2 separate regions of the Homo sapiens genome follow, and region 2 is linked to region 1. Evidence: promoter capture Hi-C in 16 types of primary human blood cells and fetal thymus (Javierre and others, 2016). All regions are on one chromosome and are shown on one strand. Each heading gives the region's core, a stretch centred on a gene start or on the middle of the fragment in contact. The rest is flanking DNA. Distances are from core to core; before and after follow the strand shown.

Evidence for each region. Contacts are between HindIII fragments. The CHiCAGO score rates a contact against its expected background, and 5 or more counts as called.
Region 2: a contact is called between a fragment that was not itself captured here and the fragment with the promoter of VCAM1 in region 1, in 5 of 17 cell types (endothelial precursors, M1 macrophages, M2 macrophages and 2 more). The highest score is 9.4, in endothelial precursors.

The regions. Positions count from the first base shown.
Region 1 is chr1:100,716,123-100,723,524 of GRCh38, reverse strand. VCAM1 (vascular cell adhesion molecule 1) reads right to left here and starts at 3,783. Exons shown (of 9, transcript NM_001078.4): 1 at 3,601-3,783; 2 at 2,774-3,049; 3 at 185-505. The coding sequence starts at 3,664. The HindIII fragment of the contact is 1,026 bases long and covers 3,046-4,071 here.
Region 2 is chr1:100,859,373-100,866,774 of GRCh38, reverse strand. No RefSeq gene overlaps it. Among named protein-coding and RNA genes, the nearest start is that of EXTL2, 32 kb to the left of the region's middle. The HindIII fragment of the contact is 1,099 bases long and covers 2,471-3,569 here.

The DNA.
Region 1 (7,402 bases), core at 2,534-5,033:
GTCCAAATCCAGTGTTCTTTTCACTGAATTATACTATTGACAAACATTATGTTGTGAATGAATACAAATGGAATACAAACTATATACAAGTTTTTTTTTTTTTTACTTTTCTGCTAAGTTTATTGCTATACACAACCAAGGTGGGATTCCCACAAAGACTGGAACACATCGCACAAGTACTTACTGTAGACTTGCAATTCTTTTACAGCCTGCCTTACTGTGGGCACAGAATCCATTTCATCAATGTGTAATTTAGCTCGGCAAACAAGAACTTTTCCAATATCCTCAATGACAGGAGTAAAGGTTACTTCCAAACTCTTGGTTTCCAGGGACTTCCTGTCTGCATCCTCCAGAAATTCCTGACTCTTCATGAGATGATCTCCTTTCAGTAAGTCTATCTCCAGCCTGTCAAATGGGTATACATCAGCAACTGAACACTTGACTGTGATCGGCTTCCCAGCCTCCAGAGGGCCACTCAAATGAATCTCTGGATCCTTAGGAAAAGCTGAAAAGGCCAAACAAATACATGGATGGGCTTTTTGCTAATGTGATATAAGGTCTCTTACCACTTTAACACAATACAAATCAAGTCTAGCGTTTTTGTTAATACAGTCTTAATACGACAGAACTGTTTGAATAGCCTTTCATGATTTGGGGTGAGTTCAAGGCACAAGAATTGGAAGCAAACATTTTTTACAACATTATTCAATTCTGATCCTGTATATATTAAGAGTTGCATGTTATTACAGTAAAAGAAAGAAGAAAAAATAATGTTTATATTGAACCTTACATGTGGCTGTCACTGTGCTATAGATTTAACATGAATGATTTCATTTTATCCTCACAATAACTCTAGGAGATAGAGATCACATTTCACAGAAAAGAAGACCTGGACTTAGTACATTTACATAACTTGTCTAAGGTCACACACCTAGTAAATGGTAAAGCTGGGATTTAAACTCAGGATTTCCATTATTGTGTTTTGCTACTACAGATTTACATTATGTTACATCACATTTTCTTATTATAGTCAGGGCAGATATATTTCCATTTTACAGATAATGACTGTAAGCCTTGGAATGTCATTGCAAAGAATAGTTATTGTCAAGATATTCTAAGAAATGAGAAGACCAACTTTAAGTAATTAGCTTCTGAAAATGGTGCCTCTGACAGGAATTCATCCACCAGAAAGATACATTTGTGCAATCTTTATGTTCTGGAACACATATTTGCCTCCTGAAATGCCTAACTCACTATCCCAACAAGTGTTCCATTGAAGCTTCTAGTACAAGGAAATACACTACTTCACGTGGCCATTGCCTCCTTTGCAAGAGTTACCTTTTTCATTATGCATTATGATGAAGTAACATATTGGTGGATTCAAAACTGTGTAGCAAAAAGAATACAAAGGTCTCAACTCTAACCACTATTACAATCAAATGCGGAAAGGAGACAGAACTGTTATACATAATGAGAAACAGACACTCTTGGAGAAAAACCTCAGGCAAGATAATTAAAACCAGAAGCGTCTTCATTTCTCTTTCTTAAATCTTCAACTATTTGGTACTAGTGGGCAAAAGACAAAGGAGCTGGAAATTCTTTCCTATGTGAAGAAACATGGTATTTTTCATTTTTCCAGCAATAATTTCTGTCCCTCATATTCTGTAAGAAATGTTCCTCTAATCCACACAGTTCGATGTCAGGTAACATAAGAACTTGCTACTTTTCCCTGTATTTACATAAGGGAAGCTTTCAAGGAGCTCGGGAGGCTGCACAGACATAAACTATGCACATACAACCAGCATAATTGAAAGCAGCCGGCCAAGCACAGTTTCTTGGGAAGCTTGAGCAACACATGCGGTTTGTTGCAGAATCAATTAAGGTTACTGGGAAAAGTTGAGCTCCGGTACAATAAAACGAAACCAAAGTAATTATAATCAAATGAGGTCTTCATGAAGACATGACCGTAAATGGGTTCAGTTTTTTAGAAAGAGAGGCCATCAGTAACAAAAGGCAAATGATTTATGTCTGGTTAGTTTTTTACTCCTCTTGCTAACTTTGTTTGCTGAATGGAGAATGGAGTGGGATGCATTTTGTCAGGCTGGTAAACTAGGGACATCCACTCACTTTCATGAGGCAAATCTAGTTCATTATATAAATATCTTTGAAGTTGAGCGGTTGAGCACCAAGGCTTCATGGCACCAAAAAAACCAAAAAAAAATCCTAAATGTGTCAACACCAAAGTCAAATGATTGAAATGTTTCCAGATATTAACAATTATGTCTAAGAAGAACACTTTTATACTAATACATATTACTAATTATAGATCTACTTAATGTTTAAACTAATTTTAAGCATCAAATTGCATAAGAATAAATGAATAGAAAATCCCTGAAGGATGGAATTCATAAATCAATCAGACACATAAGCAAGTAAACATGTAAGGATGTAATCAAATGGAAATATTTTTTAATAAAACAAAAAGAAACTTAGAAATGATCATTTTACAGCTAAGGAAACCAGAGCCCAGAGAGGTTGAGTCTTATACATGGTCACTGTGTTTGTGGCAGAGGTAGAAATAGAAGCCAAGATTTGGATTCCTGCTCTCTCTCATGTTGGCCTTAGCTGTCCCTAGCTTTCCTGATGTTGTATGTTCTTTAGCCAAGAATCTGTACATGAATATCCATTTTAAAACTTTTTTTAAAATATCATTTTTAAAAAGTGATTTTAAAGTAAAATTGAGAGAAAAACAAAGATTTTCTAAAGCACTCACAGTAGATCTCCACCTGGATTCCTTTTTCCAATTTCCTAGATTCACAAGTTGCTGTGCACAGGTAAGAGTGTTCGTTCCCAAAACTAACAGGATTCATTGTCAGCGTAGATGTGGTCCCCTCATTCGTCACCTTCCCATTCAGTGGACTATCTATCTGGGTTCTCCAAGAGAAAAATGGGGACTCACAGCCTGTGGTGCTGCAAGTCAATGAGACGGAGTCACCAATCTGAGCAAGATATCTAGATTCTGGGGTGGTCTCGATTTTAAAAGCTTGAGCTGCAAAAGCAAAAAAAGACAGAAGCAAATTTACCACTAGTTTGTCTAGTATTCTCCTCCTTCTTCTCTGTATAATGTCTAAAATATGATCAGACTGATCTCTTTCCTAAGCTGCTTCAAACTAACTGCAAGGTAGCCAAAAAGCACCGAAGTCACTGCCAAAAAAGTTTATGGAATCATCTTCAGTAGAGAGAATTCTCAGTTCCAACCTTGATGCCCATTTATCAAAGCTGTTTTGTTATTTGCTAAGTTTGACCTCATTGTCAAGTATAGGAAACTAAAGAGACAGACCGACTAGAGACAGAATCCAAATTACTCAATTGCCTTTGGAAAAAAAGATACCAAAAACATCAATTTTCAGCTCTAACTATGACAGTACAATGGTATATAGCAAAACTCAATTGCATATTAAAAGTTAGACTAAATTAACTTTTCCTACTGTTTAAAATCCTAGTGTCTTTACTTCACTACTATCGCAAAACTGACTGAAGCCAAAACCAGGGCTAAAATTGAATGCTAACATTTGAAACAGATGAAGGGAAATAACTTACAAGCTGCAAACATTATCCAAAGTATATTTGAGGCTCCAAGGATCACGACCATCTTCCCAGGCATTTTAAGTTGCTGTCGTGATGAGAAAATAGTGGTTCCAAAACCCTTATTTGTGTCCCACCTGTGTGTGCCTGGGAGGGTATTCAGCTCCTGAAGCCAGTGAGGCCCGATGCAGATACCGCGGAGTGAAATAGAAAGTCTGTGCTTTATAAAGGGTCTTGTTGCAGAGGCGGAGGGAAATCCCTTCAAGGGGAAACCCAGGGCAGAGCCAGGGAAAAAAGTTTAACAGACACCCAGCCAAGTTCCACTATTAACCCCTTCAGTTGCTCTCACTGCTGAAGCTCCTCTCTCTGTCCTGGCAAAAGAAGACACTTCCAAGACTATAAAATACAGGCTTTTCCTCATCTTCGACTCCAAAAGGCTATCTTTACTGGAAAGATAAAGGACAATGCTGATTGCAGAATGAAGCTTTCTGAATCCAATGTGGGTTAAGGGGGTGGGGAGAGAAAAAATGGAGACAGAGTAGTAAATTCTACTCTGGTTTTTGAACTGGATAAATAACGACTATGCCATGTGAATTGATTTTCTCCATCAAGGAAATATGTTTGCAATTCTAAAAGAGATTAATTTTTTTCTCTTACAAGAGAAAGGAAAAAGTTATTTCTTTTGATGAGTCATTTTTTAAAAAAGGGACACCATAACTTCTTAGTTTTATATTTATTCATAAAAATAGTTCTTTTAGCAACAAACATCAACTTTTTGAAACTATTTTCTTGAGTAGAAAGTAAAGGACTGTAACTGAAATTGCTGCCAAAACAAGGGAAACAATTTTTTTTTGTTTTAGAAAAGTTACCAATAATTTGGTTAAATTGCTGGATAATTGGAATTTTTTTGCATACTTAAATGCAAGTGTATGGAATCCATCTGAAGTGGCAAATCTCTTGGGCTGTGAGATTTAACCGCAAACCCAGTTAAAAAATTAAAAATAATAGGTTTTTATTATAGGCAAGGGGACAATAACCAACTCTATGTTCCTTTTCCCCCCAGTGAAGTGCCTTTTTAAAAAAATCCCAATTAACTAACTGGCTTAGCCTTGCACACACATAGCCCAAGGCCTTGCAAAATGCTTGCCCATCAAAAAGAAACCGGAATAGCCACTTCCTTTTATTAAACACGTGCAGGTCTATCTCCCCCATTGGATCATCAGTTCCTCTCATGGTCAGGACCAGTTCTTGTTCATTGTTGTATCTACTTCTACAATATCTAATGCATGATTTTCCACTTAGTGGATACAAAAAATGCAATAATAAACGTTATACATTTGGAGAAGAAAATTCTAAATACTAGCAATAATATGTAAATACGGCATGAAAAAACTGTTAAATTCTACAAGAAAATTCTAAAGCTCAGAGACTCAATGGGATGTGTACAATAAACTTGTACTATATAACATTTGTACTCTGTAACAAAGGCCATAGCTGAGGTCTGGAATCTATAACTGTCCCTACCTGGTTGGAGAGGCTTCTGGATCTCCTCTTGGATACTGATGTGGCTCCCACTAAAAGACAAGGAGGGAAAAATAAGTTGGAGATGCTGTTCTAGGGTGTGGGGATATATAGGTATGACTTCACCTACCAAATATCTAGGGATCAGAAAAATTGATTCAGGAAATACTAGCTTATAAACAAGTAACCCAGAGGTCCTTTACAGTGTTTGTGTCATCATCATGTAAATTCACTACTTAACTTCAGAATAGATCAAAAGGGTATTATGGAGTTTTAATATGTTCCTTTGAGGCTCAAAGACAATGGCCAATAGGATCCTTGGGATCATTATGACCAAGCTATGTTGTTCTGAGTTTGGATATGATTCGAAGCTTGCAACATTGGAGAAATGCCTAATCTATTCATTTAACTCATAGTGGTCTTGGCAAATGTTTGATCAAGTCCCTCACTATATCTTTGAGTTGGATGACATCTGAAGTCCTACCTGCTCCTCCCAGGTTGAGAGGATTGCACCCTCCTCGGTGGCCTCACTACAACAAGTGCATATTGATGGAGCATTTATCATTCTGCATTTACTGATTAATATGCCTATATTTTCTACTTTGCTAACTCATATGGTTTCATTTTTTCATCTCAGCATTTAGCTTAAAATAAAGCATTTATTAAAATTTGCAGAATTAATGAATGATCAGAGTTGCAAGTATAAGGTTAACAGATTTAGACTAACCTGTCTGAATAAAGTACTACTGAGTTTTGTCTTTGAACTTGTTCGGTTTAACCTTTTTATTAGTAGCATAAAGCACATAATATGGTTTGGCCTTGTCCCCACTGAAATATCATTTTGAATTCCCATGTGTTGTGGGAGGGACCCTGTGGGAGGTAACTGAATCATGGAGGCAAATCTTTCCCGTGCTGTTCTCATGATCGTGAGTAAGTCTCACAAGAGCTGACGGTTTTAAAAAGAGCAGTTCCCCATACAGAAGCTCTCTCTCTTTGCCTGCCACCATCCATGTAAGACGTGACTTGCTCCTCCTTGCCTTCCACCATGACTGTGAGGCTTCCCCAGCCAGGTGGAACTATAAGTCCATTAAACCTCTTTTTCTTCCTGGTTTTGGGTATGTCTTTATCAGCGTGTGAAAACAAACTAATACAGCACGTGATTATCTAACCTATTAATAATGCAAAACTGGGAAAGACAACCTTAGAGATGAGAGAAGCAAGATAAAGAAGACCTCAAGGTATGTAATAATATTCCAGATGACGAAGTAAAATTTAATAGGAATGCATTAAAGGTCAGCATTTAAATGTTTCCAATGTTTGAGTACAGTATGGGAGAGATCTGACTTGGTCACAATTCACAGAAAGAAGGTCTTGTGATTTTACGAACCATAAAAATGAACACTGCCATGAGAAATCAAAATAGCTGTGATGAGTCCAGGTTGCACTCCTAGTAATTCAACCTTCAAGTCTTCTGAGGCCACAGTCTCTGAGCACTACACACCCACCAGATCATACTGGGAGCCTGGGTGTCTAATTCAGAATGCCACTCCTTAAGAAAGATGCTGACGAAATTAAGGGTGTCCAGAGAAAAGTAATAGCTCCTATGTTGAAGAAAAAGGACATATTTTGTCTAGAGAAGAGGCACCCATGAAGCAATGTGATAACTGAATGATTAATGCACAGGGGAAGGAATTTACTTATTACTCTGTGCTATACCAAAAGCTAAAAGTACAACTCATATGTAGGCAATTACCAGATTATTAGCTCTAGAGGAACCAAGAATGTCTATGTCTTGTTCACCATTAGTGCTTCAGCACTTTTAACATAGTAACCAGTAGATACTAGGAGCTCAGTAAATCCCTACTGATTGAATATATAACAATTTAAAGGAGATCTGGACTCAGAGTCTAATAGTCTTGTCTTCAAGTCCAGGTATTCTACCTAGGAATTGTGAAACCTTGTACAACTATATGTAGCCTCTCAGAGCAGATTTACAAATGCTCAGATAGTATTATTTCAAGTGATTCATATCATTTTATGACTATCAATCAACACTGATCATATGAAATCTCTTAAAATAAATATAGTAAAATGCTATATAAATGGTATATGGTAATAATTAGAGTAGGGGGCTGGGGGAGGGATAGCATTAGGAGAAATGCCTAATGTAAATGACAAGTTGATGGGTGTAGCAAACCAACATGGCACATGTATACCTATGTAACAAACCTGCACATTGTGCACATGTACCCTAGAACTTAAAGTATAATAATTAAAAAAAGATACAATCATATTA
Region 2 (7,402 bases), core at 1,771-4,270, 140 kb before region 1:
TCTTCAAGCTAGAAAAACAAACCCCAAAAAGTATAAGGTTCACTGTTCCAAAAATTCTCCCCCTTGCTGATCATTAAAGAAAAGCCCAAGTATGACATGTAATTGCTTTGGTAGAGAAATGGGGTTCACAGTATTCACTATTAGCACTCACCATTCCTTCAGAGAGGGTAATTATTCTATGTGGCCAGCAGGTGTCATTCACTCATTTATGAAACCTGATAATTCTCATATCCAAATGCTTTTTTAAATGAATGTTGGCTTAATATTTTCATTTGTAGCGATTATGAACATTGTTTCTCTCGGTAAATGCTTACAGGAAGGAAGATATCCTAAAAATTCAACCTAGTCCTCCATTTTTTTCTCAGTCCTCATCAGGTATGCTAATTAAATCTATATATCAAGATGAAAAAAACATCTTTTACTCCGTGATGTTTAATGTTTCAAAGATTTTTAGGAAACAAAGCAATGGCTTTATGAACATTACTTACCCAGTCTTGGCACACTCAGTCCTTTAACAACATTCTCGTCATTCTGTGTCACTCCCTGCCTGAAGCCTTCCCCTGGCAACTCCGATACCACAAAACTTTGTTATCCTAAGTAAAGCAACTTCCACACTGTCTTATAACTATTTATGTATAAATCTACTTCTCATCTCTTTTGACTACTCTTCAAACCATAAATTCATAGGTTATACCAGTGCTGTGTACCCAAGCATGCAGCATAGCATCTTGTGCTCAATAAATGTTGGTTGATGGTGAACAAAAATGTAAATGAATATTTGAAACAATTTTACCATCTCAAAACAGATGGTGTTTCTATGACCAGGTGAAAAGTAAAAGGACTAAGGGATGGTGAGATCAATTGAAAAACACATAGAGACACATGCCTATTTTCCCTGGAAAAGCATATGGGATAACTGTGACTTATAGATAGAAGAGTAAGGGCAGCAGCATATAGAATCCAAAAATTTGAGATAATAGGGCAGATACATAGCTTACGGAATGAACTAGCAGGAAGTCTTAACCTTTTTGTGCCAAAGACATTTGAGGATGCCTATCAACCCTTTCTCCAAATAATGTTTTTAAAAACATAAAACACATACGATTACAAAGAAAACTAATTGAATTTAAATATAGTTATCAAAATATTTAAAACTATTTATAAGATCTAGCAGCAGACTTAAAATAACTTATAATTTCATAAAAGTGAAGAGTGTAAATGATATTTTGAGAAATCTGCGACAACTGTAACATGATATGAAAAAATATTTTTGACAGTCACAGGTACTGCTGATCTTCTGTAGTTTTTGCCTAAATTCACAATTGGTGAAAATGCTAGATTTCAGTCGAGTGAAATTGAAGTTGTAATTTTTTTCTGAAATTACATAGATCCCTTAAATTCTATTTGTGAACCACTTGAGGTGGATCTATGAACCCAAGGTTAAGGGTTAAGAACCCCTGGGCTGAATACAGGTTAGGATGGTGGGAAACAAGGAGTTATGAAGGGTGAGGGAACAAAAGGATTTTTCTTCTACAGACAGAGTTTATCTCTCTCTCTCTCTCTCTCTCTCTCTCTCTCTCTCTCTCTCTCTCTCTCTCTCTTTCTCTCTCTGTCTCTCATTCTCAAACTCACAATATTGGCCAGGTGTGGTGGCTCATGCCTACAATCCCAGCACTTTGGGAGGCTGAGGCAGGAGGATCACTTGAGCCCAGGAGTTCAAGACCAGCCTGGGAAACATAGTAAGACCTTATCTCTAAAATAATAAAATAAAATAAAAATGGAACAATAAAGCTCACAATATTCACTTCCCCACCTCTCATTTTTTCTTTACCTCATTACAATAGGGATTATATCCCTATCACTCCCTAAAATCATCCTTTTCCAAGTCTTGCCTGATATCTAGGCATTACACAGTCTGGTGGGTATGGCTTGGTTCTTACCTTATTTGATTTCTCTTTGGCTTTTTCACTGTTAACTACTCTCTTTTCAAATGTCTTTCCTCCCTTTGACTTCACTTTTTCTTTTTCTCCTTTCTCTTTGTAGGCTCCTTTTTAGCCTCCTATCCTGTCTTCTCTTCTTCTGATGGTGGATATGTCCCTGGAGTTCTACCTCTATTTTGCTTCTCTTCTCACTCTGCACACTTTCAATGAAATGCTTTATCAATCTAGTCTATGTCTCTAGCCCAAGCCTCTTTCCTGAATCTAGATCTCTATATTCAACTCTCTATGAGATACTCTTCTGATATGTACCAAGTATCCCTCAAACTCAACGTATCCAAAATTAAACTCATCCTCTTCCCCTCCCTGGTTCTTTGTTTTCATTTCCTACTTTGGTGAATGACATTACAATCCAAAACCTGCCCGACTCAAAAGTCTAGATGTTATTTTTTACTTCATCTTCTCTCACACCACCAAACATAAAATCAATGGCCAAGTTTTAAAGATTATTCATCTTTAAGATAGCTCAAGCTTGTCCCTTTTTCCCAGCTCTACTATTACTGCCTTGGATATTCTAATAGCTACCGGCAATCGTTGTTTCTAATTTGTCAAGTATTATGCCAAGTATTTTACACATGCTGTCTTATTTAATTCTCATATTATCCCCTGAGGTAAGAATCATACCTATAATTACAAATGAGGAAACAGAAGCCAAAGAGGGGTAAGAACTTGTCCAAAGTCATAGGGATTCTAAATGGCAGAGCCTGGATGGGAACCTCAGTCTGTTGGACTGCAAAGCTACATGCTTCCTTGTTGCTCTCAGGATCTCTGGTGTTCCTCACCTACACTCTACTCATCACGCTACCACTAAAATTCTTCTCGGAGGCAAGTCTGATCACCTTACTGTGCTGCTTGTGATTTTTCAGTGTTCTTGAGAATCTTCACCATAGTGCTCACACTCCTATCCTGGCCTTTATTTGGTCAGGCCTAATGAGCTCAGACCTCCCAACCTCTCCAGCCTCCCCTCTAACAACCATACAGCTTGTGCTCCACACCCAGGTGCTTCCCACCCCACCCACACACCTCAGTTTCCCACTCTGCTGTATTCATTTGCAAGGGCTACCCTAAAAAGGACCACAGACTGGGTGGCTTAAACAACAGACATTTATTTTCTCACAGTTCTGGAGGCTGGAAGTCTAAGATCAAGGCGTCAGCAGGGGCAGTTTCTTCTGAGAGCTATGAGGGAAGATCCGTTCCAGTCCTCTCCCCTTGGCTTATAGATGGCTGCCTTCTTGTTGTGCCTTACATGGTCTTCCCTTTGTGTGTACAACCCTGATGTCTCTCTGAGTATCCACATTTCTTCTTCTTATAATAAAGACATCAGTCAGATTAGATTAGAGCTCAACCTAACAGCCTCATTTTAAGTTAATTACCTCTTTAAAGGCCCCATCTCCAAATACAGTAATATTCTGAGGTACTGGGAGTTAGAGCTTCAACATATGAACTTGGGAGGGGACACAATTCAGACTCTAGCACCCACTAACCCAGCTAACTCTCACTCACCCCTCTGGATGCATTTGCTCATGTCACCCTCCCTAGGAAGTCTCTGAAGCCCTAGATCTGAGTTAAGCTTCCCTCTATTGTAGCACTTCGTATTCTATATTGTAATTTCCTTTTTACTTCTCCAAAACCTCCATTGGATCTAACTCCTTGAGGGCAGGAGCCGTGTCTTATTATTTATTTTTCTAGCCACAGCCCCCAAACCCCAAAGCTGAATCACATAGGTGTTTAATCAGCTAATTAATCAGACAAAAATATATTGGTTCATATTTTCCAGATCCTTGTTTTGGTCAGGCACTTTTCAGGAAATTAATGTTAAAGTGGCAAAAGGCAAACAAGTCCAAATAAAGCCCCTCCTCTCATGGAGTAAATATTTTCACAGGAGGACAATAAGTTGGTGAAAATACGTGATATAATCTCTGGCCCCGATAAAGAAAATAGAGTAATGTGATGGAGAGTAGCTATAGGAGACTTCTTTCACTGGTGGTTCAGGAAAAGCTGGAGGAGGATGTGAGGTGTGGTTTGAATGATGAGTTGTTAAGGCATGCTCTGTGGGAAGAGAATTTCAGGCAGAGAGAACATCAGGGGCAAAGGCCCCAATATAGGAATAAACTTGGCAAGTTTGGGGGATGACAAGAATGCCAGAGGACTGCAGAGCAGTAACTGAAGGTGAGAGTAGAAGGAAATAATGCCAGAATCTTGAGCTGTGGACTAAGTACAAAGGAAGCCTCTGAAATGTTTTCACCGGGGATGGGATATGACGATTCATATGCTTAATAAGATCACTCTGGATGCTGTATAGGATGTAGATTTTAGAAGGGCAAGAGTGGGACAGGGGGACAAATTAAGAGATTGCTGGCACTAATTCAGAGAAGTGGTTCTCAACTGGGAGTGATTTCGACCCCCCCAAGCCCCATAAGGGACATTTGGCCACGTCTGGAGAGATTTTTGGTGTTCATAACTGTGTAGTGGGAATGTGACTAGCATCTGGTGGGTAGAGAGAAGGGCTGCTGCTGAACAGCCTACAGTGCACAGGACAGCCCTCAGAACAAAGAATCACTTGGTCAAAATGTCAATAATGCCAAGACTGAGAAACCCTGATCTAGAGAGAAATAATGGTAGTTGGGACCATGGTGGTAGTAATGAAGTTTGTCAGAAGTAGTTAGACTTAAGGTATGTTTGGAGTTAGCCAGTAAGACATACAAGACTTGTTGAACAGATTAGATGTGGGCTCCTGGGTTTTTCGCTGAAGACATGGGGTAGATGTTGGTAATATTTACTGAAATGAGGAAGACTGGAGATCAATCATTAAAGCATAGATGATATTAAGAGCCCTCAGAGTTGGTCGAATCATTTAGGGGGATAGCATAAATAGAGAAGGAGAGAGGGCTGGGCAGAGCCTGGGACACTCCAGAATTGAAGTTCTAGTGAACAGAAGAAGCCCGTACATGAGTACAGAAGTGCGGTGCCTGGGAAGGCCCGAGAGGATATGTTCCAGGTGCAGGGGAGGGTGGCCAAAGGGGCAGGAACTCTGTTTTCCTGAAAAAGGAGGGAAGACAAAGTTCATAAACAAGGATGTAGGAAGGCAAGTGGATTTTGTGATGAGAAAGAGGGCATTTTGCATGTTGACATTTATTGTCTATGACGAAAGTCTGAGTATGAGTATCAGTTGAGTGTGAGTGTGTGTGTATGTGGGAGGTATGGGGATTTGAGAGAAGAGAACATTGTGAAATAGCTCTCTTGGAAAGGAGGAAAATGAAGTTACCAGGGCAATGAGATAGAATAATCTGGGACTATTTTGAGTCATTTGAGATTTGTAGTTACAAATTTAAAGTGAGTCCAGTCAGCACAATTTCTGGATTCATAATTTATCAACAACCTTTATTGAATGAATAAAATATCATAATAATAGTAATATTAACATCTACCATGTTGAGTATTTACAATGTAGCATGCATCATGCTTTATGCAATGTTCTTATTTAATATTCTCAAACAAATCTTATGAAATAGGTATTATTACCTTATTTAACTGACTTAAAAAACTAAGAATTAGAGAGGTTAAATAATTTGTTCAAGGCCACAAAGTAAAAAGGTCAGGATTCAAACCTGGGTCAGTCAGTTATAAAGCTTATATTCTTAACTATTAATAATATATCCTACTCAGGCTACCATTAATAAAAACCACTGCCCTGACCGGGGCTTTGTAATTACCCTAGTCTTCAGAAAGCCAAAGATACTAGTAACTCTAGGAGTAGTGGTGGGAATAAATGAAGATAGTGCTAAAAAAAGAAAAAAAACCTAAGTTTCATTAAAAATGCATGTAATTAATTGCTACAATTTACTGCTTTATGATTCTTCTCTTGCAAGATTCTCCTTGAGGCTTACTTAAATCCAGTTTTATCTGTTTACTGAAATGGGCTAGGGAAGGGCAAGTGGAGTTGGAACAAGGTACTGGAGAAGGAACAAGGTACACAGTGTGATTTGCCCTTAGCCTCCAACCCCCGGTGGGACAGTCTTGAGTTCTGATAAAGGATTAAAATTACTTGCACAGAGAAAACATTCTGCTTCTCCTTCAATCCCCTTTAGTTGAAATGGAGATGTGAGGGCTGAGAAGAGGTTATCTAAGACCTCAAGAGAGTATCTGAAGACAATGGAGATTTTCCTTTGTAATTTGACTCCTGCAATGCATTTAGCTCACTACACATTCTTGGCAGCAATGTGATTCATGACATGATGCGGAGTTACAGACTAAATGCAAAACATAATAGGTCCTTTTAGTCAGAACATCTGATATGGTTTGGATTTGTTTCCCCACCCAAATCTCATGTCGAATTGGAGGATGGGCCTGGTGGGAGGTGATTGGCTCTTGGGGGCAGATTTCCCCCTTACTACTCTCATGATAGTAAGTGAGTTCTCATAAGATCTGATGGTTTAAAAGTGTGTGACACTTCCCTCTCCTCTCTCCCCCTACACCATCATGGGAAGAAGGTACTTGCTTCTTTGCTTTCTGCCATGATTGTAAGTTTCTTGAGAACCTCCCGGTCCTGCTTCCTGTTAAGCCTGTGGAACTGTGAGTCAATTAAACCTCTTTTCTTCATAAAATACCTAGTCTCCAGTAGTTCTTTATAGCAGTGAAACTAATACAATGTCTAAAACAAAGTTCTCTGTGCTCCATTGAGTTTCCCTCATTTTAAATAGTTGTCAGCCATAGTCTTTACTTCCCTCTTCACAACAATTTTAAAAGTTTAGAAACTTCTTGGGTCTTTTTTTTTCCTTTTTTTTTTTTTTGCAGGGATGGTGGATGAGGAAGGGATGAGGACAGAACCAGAACCAGAAAATTTCTAGTTTTGATGAATTTGCATATAGCGTTATTGATATAGTTGCATATCACATCAAAAGTCAGATTTAGTTTGTATCTCTTTGTTTCAGTAATATTTACCTATCACTTGCCATTAATCACTGTGTTATTAAAAAGCTGTTTTTTAAAAAAACAACATTTAACTTTCTTGATATATTTATTTCAATACTTATCAAAAATCAATTAAAGCTCACCAGTTTAGATCTATGTATTTTGTTTTGAGCAATGTATATAATTTAACCATGTATTTTCTCACCTTATTTGTCATGATGAAAAATATATTGACTAGGATGGGGTACCCTACTTGACACTGGATGTGTTGAGATCTCTCTTTTTCATGCATTAGGTTAAGCTCCTATGAATCTGGGTCTTCGTTTCTAGGAAAGAGGTTAAATAATCTTTTAGCATTCCACAAGCACTTATTAAGCACCTACTTCCTAGCACTGTGTTAGGTGCTCAAGATACAGAGAAGGACAAGAAGTGGCCAGTGTTCTCAAGGAATGGAAGGAAACAAGCACTCAAGTGTTACACAGAGTAAAATAGTT